Regions from separate parts of the Homo sapiens genome. Here regions 1 and 3 are each linked to region 2. The links are contacts of gene promoters, found by promoter capture Hi-C in blood cells and fetal thymus (Javierre and others, 2016). All regions are on one chromosome and are shown on one strand. Each heading gives the region's core, a stretch centred on a gene start or on the middle of the fragment in contact. The rest is flanking DNA. Distances are from core to core; before and after follow the strand shown.

The links. Contacts are between HindIII fragments. The CHiCAGO score rates a contact against its expected background, and 5 or more counts as called.
Region 1: a contact is called between a fragment that was not itself captured here and the fragment with the promoter of GSDMB in region 2, in 4 of 17 cell types (activated CD4 T cells, naive CD8 T cells, megakaryocytes and 1 more). The highest score is 6.6, in activated CD4 T cells.
Region 3: a contact is called between a fragment that was not itself captured here and the fragment with the promoter of GSDMB in region 2, in 1 of 17 cell types (activated CD4 T cells). The highest score is 5.2, in activated CD4 T cells.

Annotation. Positions count from the first base shown.
Region 1 is chr17:39,774,435-39,779,181 of GRCh38, reverse strand. It overlaps IKZF3 (IKAROS family zinc finger 3), which reads left to right. Exons shown (of 8, transcript NM_012481.5): 7 at 1,415-1,531. Among named protein-coding and RNA genes, the nearest start is that of GRB7, 39 kb to the right of the region's middle. RefSeq lists a silencer at 568-801. The HindIII fragment of the contact is 267 bases long and covers 2,876-3,142 here.
Region 2 is chr17:39,916,792-39,921,030 of GRCh38, reverse strand. GSDMB (gasdermin B) reads left to right here and starts at 2,396. Exons shown (of 11, transcript NM_001165958.2): 1 at 2,396-2,497; 2 at 3,701-3,949. The coding sequence starts at 3,715. RefSeq lists a cis regulatory region at 2,130-2,143 and promoters at 2,122-2,484, 3,208-3,616, 3,167-3,796. The HindIII fragment of the contact is 7,383 bases long and covers 1-2,708 here.
Region 3 is chr17:39,703,664-39,708,180 of GRCh38, reverse strand. ERBB2 (erb-b2 receptor tyrosine kinase 2) reads right to left here. Exons shown (of 27, transcript NM_004448.4): 2 at 1,040-1,191. Among named protein-coding and RNA genes, the nearest start is that of ERBB2, 5.9 kb to the right of the region's middle. RefSeq lists an enhancer at 2,515-3,387. The HindIII fragment of the contact is 1,778 bases long and covers 1,365-3,142 here.

The DNA of each region.
Region 1 (4,747 bases), core at 1,760-4,259, 140 kb after region 2:
GCCTTCTTTGAACTTTAGACATAAATTTGGGCACTGCCTGCTGAATTGAGGTAAATTATATTCATTACAGTTTACTATTTTAGTTGATTAGATATTGCCACTATTTATATACTCTTCTAGTAGTTCTCAATTCTGGCTGCATTTTAAAATCATCTGGGGAGCTTTGAAAATATTCTTGCCTAGGCCCCTATACCAGAAATCCTGATTTAATTGATCTGAAGGGGGGCCTGGGCATAGGTATTTCTTACCTGCTATTCAGGTGAGTCTAATGTGCAGCCAGGTCTGAGAACCACAGGCCTACACCACTCACAGGTCTATTTGTGGATGGGCCCACATTCATAGGCAGGTTTTTTTGTGTTTTGTTTGTTTCTTTGTTTTTTGAGACGGAATTTTGCCCTTGTTGCCCAGGCAGGAGTGCAATGGCGCCATCTCGGCTCACTGCAACCTCTGCCTCCCAGGTTCAAGTGATTCTCCTGCCTCAGCCTCCCGAGTAGCTGGGATTACAGGCATGCACCATCACACCAGGCTAATTTTGTATTTTTAGTAGAGACAGGGTTTCTCCAAGTTGGTCAGGCTGGTCTCGAACTCCGACCTCAGGTGATCTGCCCACCTCCACCTCCCAAAGTGCTGGGATTACAGGCATGAGCCACCGCACCCAGCCCATAGGCAGTTTTTATTCACATTTTTATTAGAAATTCAATACAGATGCATTATACAAATTGTTCTTTAATTTCAAGGCAGAAGTGTTGCTTAGGGAAATTTTAATTGAGACTATTTTGAAATGTGAAGAGCATATGAAACAGATAATACAGAGCACAGAGAAACAGAATATGAAAGATAGGAACTGAGAGGAGCGTGCTGAAAAAAAAAAAGAAAAAGAAAAAGAAAGAAACCACTCAGAATTTCAATACACAAATCACTGAGTAGATGTCTTGCTATCTGTGTGAGTGTACCTATTTTCAAAAGTGCTGTTAACATAAACAGAGCAGTAAATCTGGGGCACCATGCTTTTTTTTCAAAGTTGTTAAGAATTATATCAGTCTGCAGGTGTCACACGCAGTTACTCAGAATCAGAAAGAAGGCTGATCGGGGGTTAGATCTCCATCTATCTATCTTTTTGCAACCAACCACGTCCAGGCTGTTTATTTAATACTTCCTCTTGCTAATGAAGGTACTGGTTGGGGATGGGTCGAGCTTTCCCATCTCGGCATAAGACTGCAAGATTTGAATGTGCCCTGGTGTCGGCTTCACTGACCACAGCAGGTACCCCAGGCAAGAATCTGAGCAGTTATAACAGGTAACAACAATAGAGTGTGCATCCAACTTCGGACACTTCTCCTTCCAGTTTATTTCCTTTTCTCCCCATGTACCAATGTGTTCTTTTCTCTCTTCTTTTTACATTTTTCCAAACTAGCAAGTGCGGAGGCAAGACACATCAAAGCAGAGATGGGAAGTGAAAGAGCTCTCGTACTGGACAGATTAGCAAGCAATGTGGCAAAACGAAAAAGCTCAATGCCTCAGAAATTCATTGGTAAGAATACAAACCTTTTTCCTGCTGTTGTTAGCAGATAGTTTGAATGAAATAACATAGGATGCTTGCTACACAAGGCCTTTCCTAGCTTAACCTCTGTTAAAATAATTAGTTTTTCATTGTGTACTTTTATTCTTCATGGTTCATTCTGATAGCTCTGGAAAATAGAATAAAAGATATTAACTAAAGCATCATCATGACAGGAGATGGGAGTAGTTGATATCCAATTTCCTAAATGGATGTGATGTTTAAAATCCTGTTCCTTCCTCTTTACTCTGAATGACATATGTTGCATGAGAGAGTTTATGCAATTTATACCAGTAAGATGTTCAAGATAGCATTTTTGTAATCTTTTGTAATTATATTTTACAAGTTGGTTCGTTAGCATGCTCAAACTTTTTTCATGCTCTAAAACATATTGCCATATTTTCTTGAATTTGAGAATTGGCTTTAAGGGAAAGTGGTTGGGCAAACATAGATTTAAATAACAAGGTTTGATTTAATCATTTGTCTTACTGGAGTTCATTTTTATGCCATTGGTTTTCACATTGTCAAAAAATACAGCAGAATGAGATGGGTATGAAATAATTATGTTCATTGAAGTGTTAGGACTTCCAAATGGCAGAGACATTTTGCTGAACTCTCCCAGATGTTTACATAAATGTGACCATGATATTTGAAATAGATTTGTATTTGTGAAGTAGACAGCTGAAATTGAATGTATCAGTTTTGCTATAAATTGAAAGTTGGTGATATTGAACAAAAATAGTTATCACATGAAAATAGACCTCCCTCAACATCAGTAATATTTTAGAAACCTGTCTCAGCCTCTTTTTCCAAAGCTGCTTGCCGCTGTTGATTTTTTATTTCAGTCCTTTTGTATTTATTCTTCTCAATAGCTCTTACAGATAATAAGTTGCCTGCCTGGTTTTTAAATCTGACTAAATTTGATTCTGGTATAGATAATGTTTTGACAAGCAAACAGTCTATGTGAATTATAGAGGTATATTGAAAGAACCCATATATTTCAAAATTACCTAATTTGGTATTTCTGCCTACTTATTTTATTTTGACTAGCTGAAAGGTTTTTGTGCACTTTTAGTCACTTTAAGAACAAATTGTGTCAGAGAAAAGTTGGTATATTTCAGTTTAGGGAGATCCCCTCCTCCTTGCTGTCCTCCCTCCCCTTGGTGAGACATGTCAGGGGAGCATGTAGTGACTTCCATTTAGAGTTTAGGCACAGTAAACAAATGGTGAGTTTAAGACATTGTCTACAAATATTCCCATATATCTTTTGGGCTTTACTTATGTGAAGAGGTTCTGACTGGAGTACAAAAGAAAGCTTGCCTTATTATTCTGAGTGTATTTTAGTTTGGAGAAAGTTATGGGTTTTGTTTGTTGGTTTGTTTTGAGACGGGGTCTCACTGTACTGCCTAGGCTGGCGTGCTGTGGTGCAATCACAGCCTCAAACACCTGGGCTCAAGAAATCCTCCTACCCCAGCCTCCCAAGTAGCTGGAACTATGGGCACGCACCACCAGGCTCAGCTAATTTTTAAACTTTTTGTAGAGATAGAGTCTCCTCATGTTGCCCAGGCTGGTCTGGAGAAAGCTTTGACTCTAGAAATGGCTGAAGCCGACAAGAGGAGGGACATCATAGGGAGAGCTGGGCAAGAAAAAAATGTAAAGCGACTTCATTTCTTTCTTTCTTTCTTTTTTTTTTTTTTTTGAGACAGAGTTTCACTCTTGTCGCCCAGGCTGGGGTGCAATGGCGCGATCTCGGCTCACCGCAACCTCTGCCTCCTGGGTTCAAGCGATTTTCCTGCCTCAGCCTCCTGAGTAGCTGGGATTACAGGCATGCACCACCATGCCTGGCTAATTTTGTATTTTTAGTAGAGACAGGGTTTCTCCATGTTGGTCAGGCTGGTCTTGAACTCCCGACCTCAGGTGATCCACCCGCCTTGGCCTCCCAAAGTGCTGGGATTACAGGCGTGAGCCACTGCGCCCAGCTGTGACTTAATTTCAATCCAGTTGTGGTCAATGCATTTTGGTGTAAGACAACTAAAATTTGAGAGACAGTCCCTAGTATTTTCGGTTGCCCTAAACCTATAGTTGAACTAAAGCCCTACTTAATATAATAAAAGTTGCTTTGGTATTTCATGGGTTCAAAAATATAGCATGTTTCATATGTGCAAATTCATGCCATTTTGCCTGTTGCCTCGGGGATCTATTTCGTTTGTTTGCTACAATTGCAACCAGAGGATTTTCACTTCACTACTTCCAGACTTGTGAGAGATGCTGATCTTGTAGGTGTTGATTTCTCTCATCTTCTGAACCATCACATTCTCTCTGTGCTGGAATCAGAAACCTAGTAGAGTTAGCTCTTGATTGAGGTAGCAACTTCAGGGCTTCAGGGCCCAGAATAACTGGGGGAATTTTTTTTTTTTTTCGTAAGTTGTGTTGTAGTGCAATAAGAAGAGTACTGGATTAGAAGCTAAAAGACCCAGGTTCTGATCCTAGCTCTGTCATTTCTTAACTGTGTGTTTAGACCAATCACAGAACCTTTCTGGGCCTCTCTTTACTCATCTGTGAAATGAGGAGACTGAATAGGTGATGAAGTGACCAGGAAGTCTCCTCCCATGTACAAGTCTGTGAGATTAATTAGAAAAGAAATAAAAGGCAGCAATTATTGATACCACTGTGTGTTTAGAAAGCCCATGTGCGTAACTTCAGATAGCCTTTTTCTCAAGGCTATACAGATGTGGTGTTTATGCTATAAACCATATCCTAGGTTTTTAGAGTCTTTTTTGTTTTAGGAAGATGGTATAAATCTGAGAATCTAAAACACAGTCGCATTAGCCCGACATTCATGTGTTTTACTTAGGGCAGTACTACTTGTTCACTCACTTTTTTGTCCATTCATTCATCATACAGAAGGTTAAGAGTTCCTGTCATATATATGGTATTCTTGTTTTGGGCACTGTTCTAATCTTCTTGCATTAACTTATATCCTAAACTTTTGTTTGAAAGGTTTTTAAAAATTAAAAATAAAAGAAACCCCTTAAATTATTTAATTGAATCAACCTTTGTGATAGAAAATAGTAATGTCAACGGAGGGAGAAAGGAACATTATTTGTGACACTGTGCAGTGTATGAGATGAAGTGATGTAAAACATGGGGCTACTGTTTTCTCTCCATCTCCCCTCGCCTTGCCTCGCC
Region 2 (4,239 bases), core at 1,147-3,646:
GCCTTCGCTTCCTGGAAGGCTGAGGGGAGGGGGCAGGGGTGTGGGCAGCGGCTCCCGCTGAGGTGCTGGTGGGGCATCAGTGCAGCTCTGACGGTGGCAGGAGGGGCGCTGGGACTGCTGGGCTTTCTGCTGGCTTCAGCAGGGAAATCCCCCAAGGGGGCTGTGAGGGAACTGGCGGCGGCAGCGGTAGTCAGAGAGCAAAATTCTCTGTGCTTTTGCCTGGCTGTTCTCCGACAGGTCTTGCGCCTTGGCCCCAGAGGCTGGGGTGACCTGTGCCATGGCCAAGGAGGGGGACACTCCAGCAATGGTTTACACGTGGAGCCAGGGTCCCAAGTGGTGCTCAGTCCTTCCCAGTGAATCCCCAGCCCTTCTCCAGTTTCTCACTTCTCTCCCCAAGGCCTTTCCCCAGTCACCTCTCCCTTGGGAGCGCTGCGTTTCCTTCTGGCCTTTCAGTGGAGGGGACTTTTCATACTTCCTCCTCCCACCATAAGCCTGAGTGGCAGGGGAAGAGGTTCTGGGGACTTTCTGAGGCCAACATGGCTAGGAGAGAGAGGAGTCCTATAGCAAGGAATCCTTATCTCACGAGGGCACTGACCTTCCAGCGTGTTCTGGGGAGTATCAGCTGCTATTCCCAGGAGAGGCACAAAGTCCCAGGTAGAAGGGAGGAGCTGTCCCCAGCAGCCTGGGGTCTCTAGCCCCGGTCCACCATCACAGCACCCTTGGAGTGAGTGTCAGGGAGTGTGGGATATTTGCCCAAGTCCAGCCACCACCCCTGTCCGAGTAGAGCCCACACAGTATTGGAAAGAGAAATATAGCCACTGCTTTCACTCCTGGGAGTAGGGGTGCCCTGGTTGCTTTCACCAGCCTGCAAGAGTATAGTCAGGGTGAGGTGCTGGAGAACATCAACAACGATCTGGGTTCAAATCCCAGCTTTGCCACTTATTAGCCATGTTGCTGTGTCAACTTCTCTGAGCTTCAGTTTATTCCACTGTTGTGTAAAGATAATGCCTCTTAGGGCTGTTGTGAGCATTAGCACAGTGCCTGGCATATAGTAAATACTCAATATATGGTAGCCATATTATTATAATTGTAATTGTTACTACCACCACTGTCGTCTATTTATTTATTTATTTATTTATTTTTTTGAGACTGAGTCTTGCTCTGTTGCCCAGGCTGGAGTGCAGTGGCACCATCTTGGCTCACTGCAACCTCCGCCTCCCAGGTTCAAGCAATTCTCATGCCTCAGCCTCCTGAGTAGCTGGGATTACAGGTGTGTGCCAAAACATCTGGCTAATTTTTTTTTTTTTTTTTTTTTTGGTAGAGACGGGGTTTCGCCATGTTGGCCAGGCTGGTCTTGAACTCCTGGCCTCAAGTGATCTGCCTGCTTCGGCCTCTGAAAGTGTTGGGATTACAGGCATGAACCACCACGCCTGGCCTGTCATCCCTTCAAATGTTCTTTCAGAACTGAGGCATGCAGAGGCTGGAAGACAGGCTGGGCTCACCGGGGTGGTTATCTCTGAGAGAGGACATGGGTGAGGTCAGAGGCCTCTCCCTGGAGAAGGAGGTAGGTGGAGAAGCCAGATGGCATCCAGATAAGGAAGACCAGCATCTCCTTGAGAGTGTACACGGGAGCACGAGATGGGGAGGGAGGCTGAGTGCTCCTTACAGGCCCACCCTGTTGCCTCCAGGTGTTAGCTGCTGTTGTCCTGGGTCTTCAGTGTTGACCGTCGCATGGCATTTGGGCAGCTGGTTCTGCTGGGTTATGGTCCTCATGTCCCTGGCACAGACACAGCCATTGCCTGCTGGCACTTGATACCTACTCATATTCCATTTCTCTATTCCAAACACACTGGATTGCATGGCCCAGGGCGCCACGGTGTGCACCATTGTCTGGCCCACACTCACCTAGAATACATACCAGGATCTCCTACCCACTCCTTAGGTACAAGAAGAAGAAGGGGTTCTGGCCGGGCATGGTGGCTCACACCTGTAATCCCAGCACTTTGAGAGGCCGAGGTGGGTGGGTCACAAGGTCAGGAGATTGAGACCATCCTGGCTAACACGGTGAAACCCCGTCTCTACTAAAAAACACACACAAAAAAATTAGCTGGGCGTGGTGGCAGGCACCTGTAGTCCCAGCTACTCGGGAGGCTGAGGCAGGAGAATGGCGTGAACTTGGGAGGCGGAGCTTGCAGTGAGCCGAGATTGCGCCATTGCACTCCAGCCTCGGCGATAGAGCAAGACTCCGTCTCAAAAAAAAAAAAAAAAGGGGGGTTCTGGCCTTAATCTGCCTCCAGCTCAGTTATAAGGTGGCTTATCTAAAGGCTTGGGAGGTGGGGCACCCAGCCCTACCCACCCGTCCAGGAAGTTCCACACCTGGACAACTTTCAGTTTCATTATTTTAGCTTCCTGAGATTCAGAGGCCAGGAACTGTGCAGAGATCTGTGGGGATTCTCACAACTTCCATTTCTGGTGAACAGCTGAGGTCAGAGAGGAGGTGGGTACCACTTGAGATGGGCCTGTGGTTCCCGGGTACTGTCTTTCCAGACACCTAGAATTCCCAGGTTGGTAGTGAACTGAGAGTCAACCACCATGATGGGGCCAGAGACAGAGGAGGAAGCAGTGAGTGGATAAGTGCCTGTGCTGGGCAGAAGGGATATAGGGGAAGGTGGCCAAAGGTAGGATGGGGAAGTGGATCCCAGGAAGCTTTTGTTTCTTCTGAGGCCAATTTACCACCACCTCATTGGGAAATTGTTGGTAGGGAGGCACCCATCCAATTGCCTTGCAGAATACAGCAAGGCAGGGAGCCCAAGAATCAGAGCCAAGGGAAGAAACGACCAGTTGAGGTTAGTAATGTGAAGTCTGGCAACCGTGCCCGTCATTCCTCCCTGGTTCCTCTGTTCATCAACGTTGGGGCTAGTCTGGCTGGGGCATGGTGGGCCTGCCTTTCCATCCCTTGGGCCCCTTGGAACAAGGGGGCAACTCTGCTGTGGGAGATGTAGAAAATGGGTCTCACTTTCTCTATTTGGGGCAATAGCTGCTACTTTTTTCCTCCAGATGGGTACCATGAGGGGCAGAGGAGAATCTGGGATCTGTGATGTTTAGCCCTCTTTACTGAGTCATGGCTGCCTCACGTTCTAGAAGTAAGGCAGGCAAATCATTCCAGGTACTGATTGTCCTGGAACCTTTGGCTCTTCCTTGACCTCATGTCACGTGCGTCCATGTGAAGAGAGTCCACGAAACGGGCTTTATATGAGCAACAAGGCTGGGTGCAGGCAAGCTGAGTCCAAAAAAGGGGTCAGCAAAGGGTGGTGGCATTATCATTAGTTCTTATATGTTTGGGATAGGCTTACAAAGTACATTCTCAAGGGTGGAGAAATATTACAAAGTACCTTCTTAAGGGCAGGGGAGAATATTACAAAGTACCTTCTTAAGGGCGGCGGCGGGGAGACTATATTGTATCAGGGTGGGGCAGGAACAAATCACAATGGTGGAATGTCATCAGTTAAGGCTATTTTCATTTCTTTTGTGGATCTTCAGTTGCTTCAGGCCATCTGGATGTATACATGCAGGTCACAGGGAATATGATGGCTTAGCTTGGGTTCAGAGGCCTGACACCTCAGGCTGCCAAATGTGGAAGATTTAAATACTTGAACCAATACCCTCCTCCCAAAAACTGAAATTGGCTTCTGTTTCTGAGTTGGTCCAGGCGCAATGTTCAGCGTATTTGAGGAAATCACAAGAATTGTAGTTAAGGAGATGGATGCTGGAGGGGATATGATTGCCGTTAGAAGCCTTGTTGATGCTGATAGATTCCGCTGCTTCCATCTGGTGGGGGAGAAGAGAACTTTCTTTGGATGCCGGCACTACACAACAGGCCTCACCCTGATGGACATTCTGGACACAGATGGGGACAAGTGGTTAGATGAACTGGATTCTGGGCTCCAAGGTCAGTATAAGGTAGATGACAGGTGGCCAGCCAGGAGGCCTTGACCGTTTGTACTCCATCTCCTTCTCAATTCCCCATTGTTATCAACCAATCAACAACGAAACTGTGGGATTTGTACACATCCACACACCTTAATTTAAGAAATGCACGGAAGAGCTGCATGGTGGGAGGAGAGTGGGAGAAGTGGAGATTTATTTCCACTGGAAACCGTTCCTAAATGGTCTTCCTTTTCCATTTTTTCCCTTGTAAAATAATCTGCTTTTAATTTAGCGAGCTCTTCTCATGTGTTT
Region 3 (4,517 bases), core at 1,004-3,503, 210 kb after region 2:
AAATAGAGATAAAGATCACGCCCTACCTTGCCTCACCAGATTCTTATATGATCAAGAAAGATAATGGTGGGGGGGCATTTCATAAACTCCGAACAGGTGCCCTGCCCTCTCTGTATCTCAGTTTCTTCATCAGTGAAAGCAAAGGCCTGGATGGGATGGCGTCTGCAAATTTTTTTTTTTTGAGACGGAGTTTCACTCTTGTTGCCCAGGCTGGAGTACAATGGCACGATCTAGGCTCACCACAACCTCCGTCTCCCAGGTTCAAGTGATTCTCCTGCCTCAGCCTTCCCAAGTAGCTGGGATTATAGGCATGTGCCACCATGCCTGGCTAATTTTGTATTTTCAGTAGAGACGGGGTTTCTCCATGTTGGTCAGGCTGGTCTCGAACTCCCGACCTCAAGTGATCTGTCCGCCTCGGCCTCCCAAAGTGCTGGGATTACAGGCATGAGCCATCGCACCCGGCCGGCGTCTGCAATTTGACAAACCAAGCATGTGGCCCCATTCCAGGGTCTGTGGACACGATCCAGCAGGTTGGTTTCCACTCTCCCTCCTGTTCATAACCTTTTCACAGACATTTCTCTTCTGAGCTTCACAACTGCTCCCAATATACAGATAGGGAAACTGAGACCCAGTGAAGCTAAGGGGGTGTAGGCCACATTCATAGGGCTCGTCAGTGGCAGAAGTGGGCCTGTAATCCACCTTTCTCACCAGCCCTTTCTTCTGCTGTAAGTGGGAGAGGGATAGTGGCTGGAGCAGGTGGACAGGGGACATGATCATGCTGGCAAGAGAGCACAAGATTTAGCGGAAACACAGACGCATCCCATCCAGACATGACCTCGGCCAGCCACGTTATAGAGAGAGTCAACTGATTCTGCAGTAAAATGAATGGGGGTTAGATGTTAGAAAGGACTTCCTGGTTGAGAAACCACAACAAGAGAGGAAACAGAAGGGCAGGGCACCTTCTTCTGCCACCCACCTGTAAACAGAGGGCTCAGCCCAGCTGGAGGCAGGGCCTGGCTGGGTTGCCCACGGGCCTCACCTGCAGGAAGGACAGGCTGGCATTGGTGGGCAGGTAGGTGAGTTCCAGGTTTCCCTGCACCACCTGGCAGCCCTGGTAGAGGTGGCGGAGCATGTCCAGGTGGGTCTCGGGACTGGCAGGGAGCCGCAGCTTCATGTCTGTGCCGGTGCACACTGGCAGGAGAGAGCAGATGGGTCAGAGGACACTGGCGGGGGACCTTCTCAGACCTGGCCACCCCATCCAAACTCACTCCAAGTCATGCCACCTCAGACAGGGAGAAGCCTGACTGAAGGACCCCTCCGCCCATGTCCCTTGCACACTGCAGGTTTAACAGCAGGAGAAAGCTTGCGTGCTTGGGAAGTAGAGGGATTTCAGGGGAAAGGCTTCTTCTGACTAGGCCCACCCTGTGCATTCAGAGGCTGCCCCAGCGTGCCAGCCCTGGGGAGCTCGCCCGCCAGTACAGGGTGTTGGCTGGCAAAGAAAGGCTTCCTTTGTCCCAAAGGCACAACTCAGGGCAAAGGGGTAAAAATCCCCCAAGAGAGGCGATGACGAATCATGAATCTTCTGGATACCCCCTGCCCCTCTCCCAAGCAAACAAACTCGGTGCATTCTCCCTATGCCATTCCAGCACACCCACATGCCAACCTCTTGGCAAGGGATCCACACCCCCGTAATGCCACCCAGAGAGTGGGGAAGGAGGGTCAGCTGGAGTTGCAGCTGAGGCATGGGACAACCGGGGCTCTGGTCATTGCAGAGACCTCTGGGAGTCCCCCATGAAGAGAAAAGGAGCGTCAGATTCCAGTTGTGGGCATCTGGACCCAGGCTGCAGATCCCAGGCCAGGGTGAAGCATGCGCCAAAGGTTCCTGCGCTGGCACCCTCACCCTGGCCACCTCCTCAGGGCAAGACTCCAGAACCAGCTGGCAGAATGTGTGCCACGAAACTGCTGCCACAAAGGCACTACGTCAGCCCTGCATACCTGCCCAGCGCGAGCCATCAGCCATGGGGCATAGGGCTGAACTGCCACACCTGGCCCACTTGGACCCCAGCCTGGTATCCCTGAGACCAGAAATGCCCACTAAGGTCAGGAATACTAGAGGAGGTAAAGCACCCCTGGTGAGGGGCGCCGGGGTAGCAGCTCACACCAGGCCTGCCAGTGAGGGGAGATTAAAGTGCCCAGTTGAACTTGTTTTTCTGCTCTGGTGAGATGAATCACCTGGCGTGTCTTGCCCAGGAGATCGGAAGGGTGGGGGCAGAGGGCACCCTCAGGCCCACAGGTGCCTGAGCTGCCCAGAATTCCTGCCGGTCACTGCTCCGCCTCCCACAGGCTACATGCAGATTCAGGGACAGCACAAGGGCTGGCTTGGGGTCTGACACCAGAGGCACTGCTCTCCCAGCAAGTTGGAGCCTAAGGTCAAATCCTAGGGGGTAATACGAGGTACCCCCTGCCTTCAGATTGCTGGGAGAGGCTGGTAGGGCAAGCCCCCAGGTTCCCTGCCTGGGCCAGTGGCCAGTGGCCACAAACTGGTGGTCTCCTAGTGATACTCAGAATGGCCTCTATTCCCACCTCTCTAGGCAGATAAGGACAAAGAGGGAGGAACAGGAGGGAGGAACAGAAATAGAACTCAAGGGTCCATGTCCCTGAGGGAGGCCTCCCCACTCCATGCCTCACCCACTTGCACCCCCTCCTCTTCCCCACACTTCCTCCCCCAACAGACTCCCAAGAGAAACAGGAGCTGGGGGTGGCAGGCCAGGCCCAAAATAACGCCCTGCTGCCAGGACCTCCCCCGGCCTCAGCCCTTCAGCTGCTTTATAGACACAGCTGTCTGCAGGCCCAGACCCCAGGCCCTGGCCCAAGCCCAGGGTCTCCACAGGGCTGGGGCAGGGTCCGACTCCACCCCCTGTAGCCCTTTTCAAGGGATACCAGCTGTGGCCGCCAGGCAATAGGAAAACAACAACAATGGGGAGTGGGGGCCGCCACAGTAACTGAGCTGAGCACCTACTGTGTGCCTGGCAGGCACTCTCGGTGGATCTGCATAACATGCTCCAGAGACTGGGGCTGCAACCTCCATCTTGCAAAGAAGACAACTGAGGCTGGCAGGGGTTAGCTCTCGCCTCATAAAGCTTGTGAGCAACAGGCAGGACTGGAACTCAGGCTGGCCTGCCTTCAGATCCCACATTCCTTCCACTAGGCCTAACTGCACACACACAAATCCACCCCACACCCCACGCCAACATAAATACACACTAATTCTCCCAATGCCACCGATAAACACCACAGGCTCTACGGAGGGCAGGGTGGCTGGGCTGGGTTGGGCTGGAGGGTCAGAACGGGTGGTAGCCCCACCCCACTAGTGAGTTTGTTTACCTGATTTGTGGCCAATTTGAGTCTGATTAAGAATCTTAAAGTGTTTGCAGACAGGTGGTAAAATTGGTACCCTGAGAACGGTTCCCAGGGAACTGGAGGCTTGCTGGCTAACACCCCCACCAGCCTACATGAAGTCAAGAAGGTCTTCCTGACACCTCCCTCCCACTCTCCCATCTCCTTACCATTGTCCCCATATCTGCCCTGTCCCATTGGTTTTCTTTTTTTGAGATGGAGTCTCGCCCTGTCGCCAGGCTGGAGTGCAGTGGCGCAATCTCGGCTCACTGCAACCTCTGCCTCCCGGGTTCAAGCAATTCTCCTGCCTCAGCCTCCTCAGTAGCTGGGATTACGGGTGCCTGACACCACACCTGGCTAATTTTTGTATTTTTAGTTGAGGCGGGTTTCACCATGTTGGCCAGGCTGGTCCTGAACTGCTGACCTTGTGATCCGCCCGTCTCGGCCTCCCAAAGTGCTGGGATTACAGGTGTGAGCCACGGCACCTGGTCCCCGTTGATTTCCTGGGGGGTAGGTCCTAATTCTACCCAGGAGTGTCCTTGTCTCCAGGACCCTGCCCCTCAGGAACCCCAACCTCCAATTCTCCAGAGCAAAGACAGTATGAGGCAGGACCAGCCACAGGGAGCGCTAGATAAGTGTCTGCTGAGTGAATGAATGAATGAGTGGATGAATGAAGTCCAGTCACGAGTCTCCGAACAAAAGGGACCAGTTGAGGTCATGGAATCCATCTCTCTGCTCAGAGCTGGTCACAGTCCTTCATGTCTCTCTGGACTCTGGTGGTCAGGACTTGACCCCAGTCCTGAGGTTTCTCTCAGGTGGGTTCTCTCCTCCCCACCAGCTTGCAGCCCCAGCTGCTCCTCTTGCTCACAGCAGAAAAGCCAATACTTCCCTTGGTTTCCATGAATACTACAGTAAAATGACCTGTGTCCCCAAAGCTCAGCTCTCCCAGACCCATAATGTCACAGCCCATTCAAGTGACACTGGGATTCCCCGACCACAAACACCTGGTGTATCAGGCCTGACATCAGACCAGGGCCTGGGCCCAGGGTCTTTAGTTGAGAACCCTAGCTCAGCTGCTCACTGAGTGATCTTGAGCAAGTTCCCAGACCTCCAGGGCAGAA